Regions from separate parts of the Homo sapiens genome. Here region 1 is linked to region 2. The links are contacts of gene promoters, found by promoter capture Hi-C in blood cells and fetal thymus (Javierre and others, 2016). All regions are on one chromosome and are shown on one strand. The core of a region is centred on a gene start or on the middle of the fragment in contact, and the rest is flanking DNA. Distances in the headings are between cores, read along the strand shown. Region 1 holds the start of PCM1 (pericentriolar material 1). Region 2 holds the start of LONRF1 (LON peptidase N-terminal domain and ring finger 1).

Evidence for each region. Contacts are between HindIII fragments. The CHiCAGO score rates a contact against its expected background, and 5 or more counts as called.
Region 1: a contact is called between the fragment with the promoter of PCM1 here and the fragment with the promoter of LONRF1 in region 2, in 1 of 17 cell types (total B cells). The highest score is 7.7, in total B cells.

What each region holds. Positions count from the first base shown.
Region 1 is chr8:17,921,233-17,925,369 of GRCh38, reverse strand. It overlaps PCM1 (pericentriolar material 1), which reads right to left and starts at 2,382. Exons shown (of 39, transcript NM_006197.4): 1 at 2,182-2,382; 2 at 590-657. LOC124901867 reads left to right here and starts at 383. Exons shown (of 4, transcript XM_047422505.1): 1 at 383-456; 2 at 1,143-1,213; 3 at 1,604-1,861; 4 at 2,024-4,137. The coding sequence starts at 383. The coding sequence ends at 2,706. RefSeq lists enhancers at 1,355-1,414, 2,565-3,014 and a silencer at 1,876-2,170. The HindIII fragment of the contact is 6,694 bases long and covers 1-4,137 here.
Region 2 is chr8:12,753,273-12,757,502 of GRCh38, reverse strand. LONRF1 (LON peptidase N-terminal domain and ring finger 1) reads left to right here and starts at 1,977. Exons shown (of 12, transcript NM_152271.5): 1 at 1,977-2,803. The coding sequence starts at 2,083. RefSeq lists enhancers at 1-30, 1,684-2,503 and silencers at 1,479-2,148, 2,229-2,568, 2,572-2,762, 2,659-3,198, 3,249-3,328 and 1 more. The HindIII fragment of the contact is 11,195 bases long and covers 1-3,793 here.

The DNA.
Region 1 (4,137 bases), core at 1,133-3,632, 5.2 Mb before region 2:
AGTGAACTTACATTCTACAACACTGACTTTATTCTGCTGGACAGAGAATACCTTTATGTCACTTGCATGTGACAATGTACTATGCGCTAAAAGTAATGTTTCAAGTAACTTTATACCAGGAAAGGGAGATCGAAGTACAAAAAATAATAATAAAGTAATTTTAGACAACTAAATTTCGGTCAAGGTATAACAAGTTCGACAAGTAGAGTTCATGAACAGCCAATTAATAGGAATGTTGTAGGAGAGAACTTGAGATTAAATGGATTTGGAAAGAGAGGCTATCCAGTTATAGGACAAATTCAAACAGGTTGAAAAAATTCTGTGAAGACAAATAAATTTCAAACGGTACTGCATAAACCATTCTAGTAATTAATAATTAGGAATGACAGGGCCTTTCCGAACAAAGATATACCGGCAGGCCAAAGCAGCACGCCGAAAAGCAGAGCAAACAGGGCGGTGAACCCAGAAAGTTTGTTTACTAAGCAGAGAGGATCCTCAGTCATGCACTGTAACTGTGACAGCAGTGTCCACCATAAAGTCTTCTCCAACTCTAATACAAAGGATAATACAGATAATAATGTCAAATTACCTGTTTAGAAACTAGTTTTTGCAGCTCAGAAACTGCTCCTTTCCCGCTCCACACTTCAAAGCTGTTTCCTAATTAGGATTAAAAATATGTATCACTTAAGTAAATTACTTACGCTATGAAATACAGAATAAAAAATACTTCAGTTTTGGTCTAAAGTATGTTTAGAAAGATCAAAAGAAGGGGAAAAATATAACTTATTCATATTTTAAATTTAAGTTACCTCAATTCTTTTGGAAAATAGTGTGATATGCATAAATGCTTAAATCCCCTAAACTTCTGAAATCTTACCAAACAGCAAAGTGATATCTATTTCGGAACAGTGTAACAAAGATGGTTAGCCCTAACTATCCTTTAATAGTCTATGCCAAAGTTTACTCCTCTGATTGATCGAGCTTCCTGTTACTCAAACTATGTAACAACCTCGTATATCCGATGATTTTAAAAATGTTTGCTCATTTAAAAGCTACTGTACTTCATAATAAAATAACCTCGTCACTACATAAATACCAGGTTTACCTTCAATTCAAAAACTCTGTATTATATTGGTGTTCAGGGGTCCTCACCAGGAAGGTGCTAGGGAAAGAAAGGAGCAGGTGCACCCGAGGCTCTGCAACACCCACTCCGGTAACCAGAGAACACCAGCAGGCGGAGTCTGGAAAGCGGTTATGGGGCGGGGGTGGTAGGGGCGCCCAGAAAGCCCGCTCCTTCCAGCGCCCAAACACGAACCGTCACCCGTAAGACACACAATACAGACCTCAACTCGCTCAAAAAAACAAAACAAAACAAAAAAAATTAAACCAGGCGAGTTCCTGGGGAGTAGGCTGAGGGATGCAAAGTTGGCGCGCCCAGCCTCCCTGGCGGGGCCTAATCCCCAAACGCCAGTTTCTGTAAACCAAACAACGTTTCCCCCAGTCCCACTTGGCATTTAGTCTTTCCCGGTTCTAGGCCCAATTCTAACTAGATAGGTAGGAAGGGAGAAAGAAGGGGCAATAATTACTCCATTAACCTTCCCAGGAACGCCTCCCCCGGCCCATCGGCTCCCACAGCACCAGAGACGGCGGAAATCCTGCAGCTCACAGCCCAACTGCAACTCTTCAGAGTCGCGTCGCTCCTCATCCGCCCTTCTACACCCCAAACTCTGGACACCGAGAGTTCCACAGAGGGAACGCGGGGAAGAACTATGGCCACCAAGGCCTGTTTCTCTAAGAACTCGACCCAGTGCCCCTAGCACCCAAACCAGAGTCCCCGCTCCGCTTCCTCCGCCCGCAAGGGGTATAGCCGGAGCCACCGGGACGCAGAACAGCCTCCCCGACAGGGCCAGCAGGAGGGGCGAGGAGGCAAGAAGGGAGTCCTGCAATCACCAACGCGTCGCGAGGTGCTCACCCGGGGATCCCGGCGATCAGTCCTGAGGGAGCGGGCGGACTGACCGCCTAGGGCACGGGAAGCCCGGGGCAGGAAGACCCGGGAACCTACAGAGGAGGCGTGGGCCCGTGGCCAGACCCAACAGGGCCGAGTGTCCCGGAGCCGTTACTCTCCCGCCTCTGGGGCGCGCCGCCCTAGGTTGCCAAGGGCTGGGGACGCGCAGGCATTACCTCTACAAGAAGCAGCCTCTCCTGTCAAAGGCAGAGCGACAGTCAGCCCCCACGACCCGCCGCCGGCAGCGGTCGGCCCTCGGAGACCGCAGCAGAGAGGCCCACACGTTTCCTGGCTGCCTCGGCCCCAGTGGCCGCCTTTTCGACCTCAGCTACGCAGCGCCAACCGCCGCAGCCACCGCCATCTTAGGATCTCATTGTGGTGGGAGAAGAGGGGCGGGGGTACTGCAGAGGGGGCAACGCGCGGCGGGACATGCGCCGTCTCCTCGGCAACGGCCGCGCGGGGGCGAGAACTCGCCCGGGCGGGAGCCGCAATGCGAGCTAGACTGGAGTCATGTGACCCGCCGGAGTCTGTGGTGTCGCTTCTGGCTCTTTAAGCCGAAAAGAGATTACACCAACGAATCCGCCCCCACCCGCCCAGGAACTATGTATCCCAGAATGCCAACTAGACCTCGCGTTCTAAACGCCTGCCGGCCACAGGTGGAGGACTACAAATCCCAGCATGCCGTGCGCTTCCGGCGCTGATCGCGGAGCGTGGGGCCCTAGGCCTATGCGGAAGTGCATTGATCCCTCAGCCCGTGGAGAAAGAGCGGAGGCGCTGTGCGGTTTTCCGTGGGGGTGTCAGCTCCGGCCCGTGCCGGAAGAAGGAGCCAAGACCGGGATCGCTTTTTTGCCCCTTCCTCACCCCACATTCGGTCACGAAGAGGTGGAAACAAAAGGACACTTACAATGTAGTCCAACCTCCTGATTTTACATATGAGGGGATTGTTCCACGGAAGTTAAACAATTTGCCAGACGTCATTATGTATCTACTGAGTGAGAGAATCATAAATATTGTTGATAGTTAACGCCACTTTTGGTTAATGTCCCTTTTCCTTAAAAGAGCCAGATGATTTTAATCCAAACTTAATTTCAGTAAATTTTCTCTGAACTATCTTTTTATTTATACTCTCCTGTTACAGCTCTATTAAGATTAATAAATTGGCAGGTCCTCCCTTTAAAAAACAAAAATCAATAAAGTCACAAGGCCTTCAATGTGCCTGACTGGAAAGGTAAAACACCTGTCAGTTTTAGTTGAGTGCAAGGGCATTCTTCTAGTTTTACGCAGTTTATAATTATGGAATAACTTTTTAAGCAAAATAAAGGTAAAAAGAAGAATTGCATTCTGGGTTTCAACAACAAAAACAAATTGTTCCCAAAATAGTAGGTCTGCATCTCAGTACGCAATTCACATAAAGCTCTTCTATCCCACTGCAATCTGCCACCGTAGGTTCAGTCGTGAGTGCATTGATCGTTGGTCAGACACTTTTTCCTCATATTCTGTGTGTGTATCGCTAACTACTGCGGTAGCAAAAATATAGTCCCTGCCCTTGAAGAGCTCATATTTTAGTGAAGGATGCGGAAGTGGAGTGTGATGTAAATAAAGTTTGTGTTGTAAGAAAAAGTGCTGTGGGAGCTCAGAACACAGCAGCTAAACGCTCAGGTGTTTATTGTAGTCCAGAATGCCCTATCCTAATTCCACCACTCCAAGATCCTGGACAAGCGACGTGCCTTTCTGAGCCTTAATTGCCCCATCTATGAAATGAGGGGGAAGGAATGATACTGCCTACCTTGAAAGGATTTTTTAAAAAATGTTCTCAGAGTTTGTTTTATGCCAGGCACACTGTAAAGCACTTCGGCTGTTGTGATTTTCTTGATCCTCACAGTTACCCTGAAGAGGCTGGTTCTGAATCTGACCCGTTTTGGCAATGAAAGATTATATAAATCAAACTTGTAGCAGCTGCAAGTGGTAGAGCCTAAATTTAAACGGAGGTCTATGTGATTCCTTTAAGATTTTTTTTAATTAAATACAACGCATATAAAAACACTAGTATATGTTGAGGCCCGAAATATTAGCTATCATCATTATTTTGCTTTATACATATGTATTATTATTAAACGTATGTAGAAGCTGTT
Region 2 (4,230 bases), core at 728-3,227:
GGTAAGATTCCTCCTACGGTCCCATTTTTTTCTCCCGCACATTATCATAATTGTGCCATTTTATTTCACATCAGAATCAGATGTGGTTGTCATATTTATTAGGAAAAGGAACTCCAAAGGACAAATAATACTTCACATTATTTTCTGAACCACATATTGTACTTTTGGCAGAAATCCCATAATAGAACCTGACTTTATATTTGAAAAGAAGTTTATGAGTGTTTATTAATTTACTATGCTCCTTGTAATAAACATGAACACATTGATTACATATTTACTGTTGTAAATTTTGCAACATGCCATTAAGAACAAGGATGCGTTACAAAAATGAATGTGCGTGTACACATGGATATTTGTTTGTGATTTCAAGTCTCAAGGGAGTATGTGGACATCAGCTGAAAGTCACTGTTCTGCTTGTTAAGGTAGTAATTTAGGGGTTAGGATTGGATTTAAGGTTATGCTCATGACTTAATCCCAATGCTTCCCATGCCAAATGCTTAGGAGGTGCTCCTTGGATCTAGCTGCAATTTGCTTCAGGTGCAATGTGAGTGATAAATGAACTTGTTTCTGTCTGCATCCTGTTGGAACAGGAGGCTTGGCTTTTTCTCAGGCACCTCTTTTTTATTCATTCCCTTTAGGGTAATATAACTCTGTCTTTTCTGACGTTACACGACTTGTTGATTGTGTAGTGAAAACACATGAACTCAAAACATTTTTTAGCCTTAATTGCCTGTTCCTTATAAAGAGAAATATTAAACGTTTACCAATTTCATACATAGCATGCTCAGGTGAACTTTCCAATTAGCAACTTCTTTTACTTTGAAAATCTCATATATTTCTATGAAATATTACATATTTTATTAAATATTACATATTAGTCTAACGTAGTAGTAGTGGAATAGACGTGATCTTAAAATCTGTATTAGCTGTGTGATTTTTGACAAATAACTTTCCCTGTGTTTCCAATCATTTGAAAAAGGACTAAAAGTCCTAAGTGACTTCCAACATTAGCGATCTAATACCCTATCATCAAATCTGTATTTTCAGCTGAGAGCTTTAAACTTGCTGCTGTGAAGTTTAAGGGAAATAGCACCCATTATATATCAACCCGATCATTTTCTTCTGTCAGCAAAACTGCAGAGCCAGCTTGGGTTGTAGTAATACGGTGACCGCCATGTGAAACATGTTTCTTGGTGTTTTCTTTTAAAACTGCCAAATATAGACCTTAACCAGCTGTAAGGCAGTGCTTGAGGTGTGGAGACACCTGAGGAAGCTGTGGGCTTTCTCCCTCGAGGTGGGCCCACGATGAGTTTTAAGCAAGACGGGCAAGCAGTCACCTGGCACCAGGAAAAACTCCTTGCCCTCTGGAGGGAGTCGCCCCAGGAACGTGGGTTTTTTGTTCATATTTAAAGTTGAGTCCTCTAGAACCGAAGAGTCCCAGTCATCTGCCGAAGGTGCGCTCCCAGGCCCCCTGCTTGGGCGCGCCCACCTGGAACATGGGCGTAGAGCTATGAAAATGCAGACCCGCACAAGCGCGAGGCCACGCGGGGAGACCCCCGCCCGCCAGGAGTTGGGGCAGGTCCGGCCTGGGCGGGGGCGTCGGGGGAGGGGTGGTGACCCGGAGTCCCGCGCGGCAGGGGAGCGTCCCCCAACCCCCGGCAGGGGCGAGGGCCACCGCAGGTGGCGGCGTTGGCAGACAGGCAAGCGGGGACTGAAGCTCCGGGGTCCTTCCGGCTTTGTTCCGTCACGAGCCGAGCCCTCCTTTCCGGAGAAGCCAATTAGATCTCCGACGGAGGAATCATCCGACCTGCGTCCCCCACCCGGAGGGGGCTCGGAAGGGGCGGGGCCCAGCGCTTGGCTCCTCGGGAGCGCGGCCGCGGGCGGCGTGGGGGAGTCCCGGGCGCCGTCGCCGAGCCCGGCCCCGCCCTCGCCAGGCCCCGCCCTCGGGGCTTCCCGGGCGCGCGCAGCCCCGCCGTGTCCGCGCGCCACGCCCCCCTGCTCGCGGGCCGCGTGCGGAGCCGCGCGCCCGGGAGGCTCCGGGACCGTGGCGGCGGGCGGCGGCGGCGCAGCCCTCCGCGGGCCATGTCCTCTCCGGCGGTGGCGAGGACCTCCCCAGGAGGGAGTCGGGAGATGGCCCCAGCGCCGCAGGGCCGAGGCCGGTTCTGGGAAGTGGGCGGCGGCAGCGGCCATCGGCTGGAGCGCGCGGCCGCGGAGTCGGAGCGCTGGGAGCTGCTGCTCCGCCGCGGGGAGCTGCTGGCGCTGGGCGGCCACCTGAAGGGCGCGCTGGAGGCGTTCGCGGCGGCGCTGCGCCGCGGGGCCCCGGCCAGGCCCGAGTGCCTGGGCGCCCTGGTGGACTGCCTGGTGTTCAACTACCGGCTCCGCCACGGGCTGGGCTGGAGCGCGGCCCCGGTTGCAGGCGCTGACGGCGGCGCCGGCGGGCTCCTCAGATGCCTGGGCTGCCGGGGCTTCCTGAGCGAGCCGGTGACCGTGCCCTGTGGCCACAGCTACTGCCGCCGCTGCCTGCGGAGGGAACTCCGCGCCCGCTGCCGCCTCTGCCGGGACCGGCTGCCGCCCGCCACCGCCAGTGCCACTGATGCTGAAGGGACCGCCCCGCGGCCGCCGCCTCTGGCCGCCGCCATCGCCGCTTCAGACTTCAGAACCAGCGTCGTCCTCAACCACCTGGCCGAGAAGTGGTTTCCGGGCCAGCGCGAGCGGGCCCGGGCGGCCGGCAGGCTCGGGGAGCTACTGCACCAGGGGCGCTACCGGGAGGCCCTGGCCGCCGCCTGCGAGGCGCTGCGAGCAGGTGACCGCGCGGGGATGCGGCGGGGCCGGGCCGACCGCACCCTCCTGGCCCCGAGGGCCGGGGACCCGGAGCTTGTCTGCGCCCCGAGAGTCTCCTCTGCTTCCCCGGGGCCGCTGGGCCGCTGGCGTGTCGGGTCTCGGGGTGCTGGGGGGTGTGGGAGGGGGCGGCGCCCCGGGGTGCTTCGGTCATAATGGGGATCGCCCTGGGAGCCGACTGTGACGCGGCGCGGGGAGGGGCGCTCGGCGCGGGGTTCCCTCGGCCGCGGCCTGGCTGTCGGGCGCGCGCTCCCGGCGCGGAGTGGGTGACCTGGACCGAGGCCGCCCCGGCGCGGGATGGGTGGTAGCTGGGCTATCCCGAGCGGCCGCTCGCTTCCTGCCGCGCGCTTTCCGGGAATTGGCTCTCGGGCCGGGCCCGCCGCGGGGAAACGACTGCCGGGGCGGGGAGAGAATCCCCCGCGAGGGCAACTAGGCCGGGCAGGCGGCGTCTCCCTTCCTCACCCACAAAAGTCACCGGGACAATTGGGAACCGCGGGAGGGCAGAATTGCATAAGCTGGGGGCGGGGGGCGTTGTGTAACGGGTGACGTCCGGTGGGCGTGGCGGGAGCTCCGCGCGGGCGCCCGGCCCCGGGAGGCCCTGCAGGCCGCCGGGCTTGGGGCTTGGGGCGGAGCTGCCCAGGGTGGTCCCTTGCTACCTGGAAATGCCTGAACTGGTTCCTCTTGAAAGTTTCAGCTGGCCTGTTTCAGATCCTGCTTATTTCCTATGTACTTTGCAGTGCACCTAGCTTATGGTAAAGATGAGAGGGGCTGCCTGATCCATAGTTCTCTGCCACGCTTCTCCTGGCCTTTCCACTTAGGATCAGGCTGTGGGGAAAGGCCTTATAGGTCTTGAGTGCATTTCTTAGTCTCCAAGAAGCAGCCTCGGCCTCCTAACCTAGGTTAGCACTTTCTTCTTAAGGTGGTTTTAGGCGCTGAAAGGGGGCAGTTTCAAGCTTCTCTTACGTAAAAGGAAGAGTTGTTCTATATAAATCAGTAGTTCTCTACCAGGGGGATTTTATCTCCCCTCTCTCAGGGGGCATTATTTAGAACAATATCTGGAGAGATTTTTGGTTGCCACCTCTTGTGGGGGTGGTGCTGGTACCGACATCTAGTGGGAGAGGCTGGGGTGCTGCTCAGACATCCTACTAGGCACAGCAGGATTCCCACAACAAAGAATTATCAGGCCCCAAGTGCCACTGTTGATAAACCTTGTGTTACGCGTATTTCAAGATCTTAGTGTCTATCCATTGGCATGAAATGATAGGGGAATAATCCCCAAGAAAACAGACATCTAGAATAGCAACTGACTTTAGGTATTACAGGTAAATTTATAGACTGTGTAACTGAAAGGATCATCTTTCGGGTCATCTTTTGTCCCAAGTGCTTAGTCAT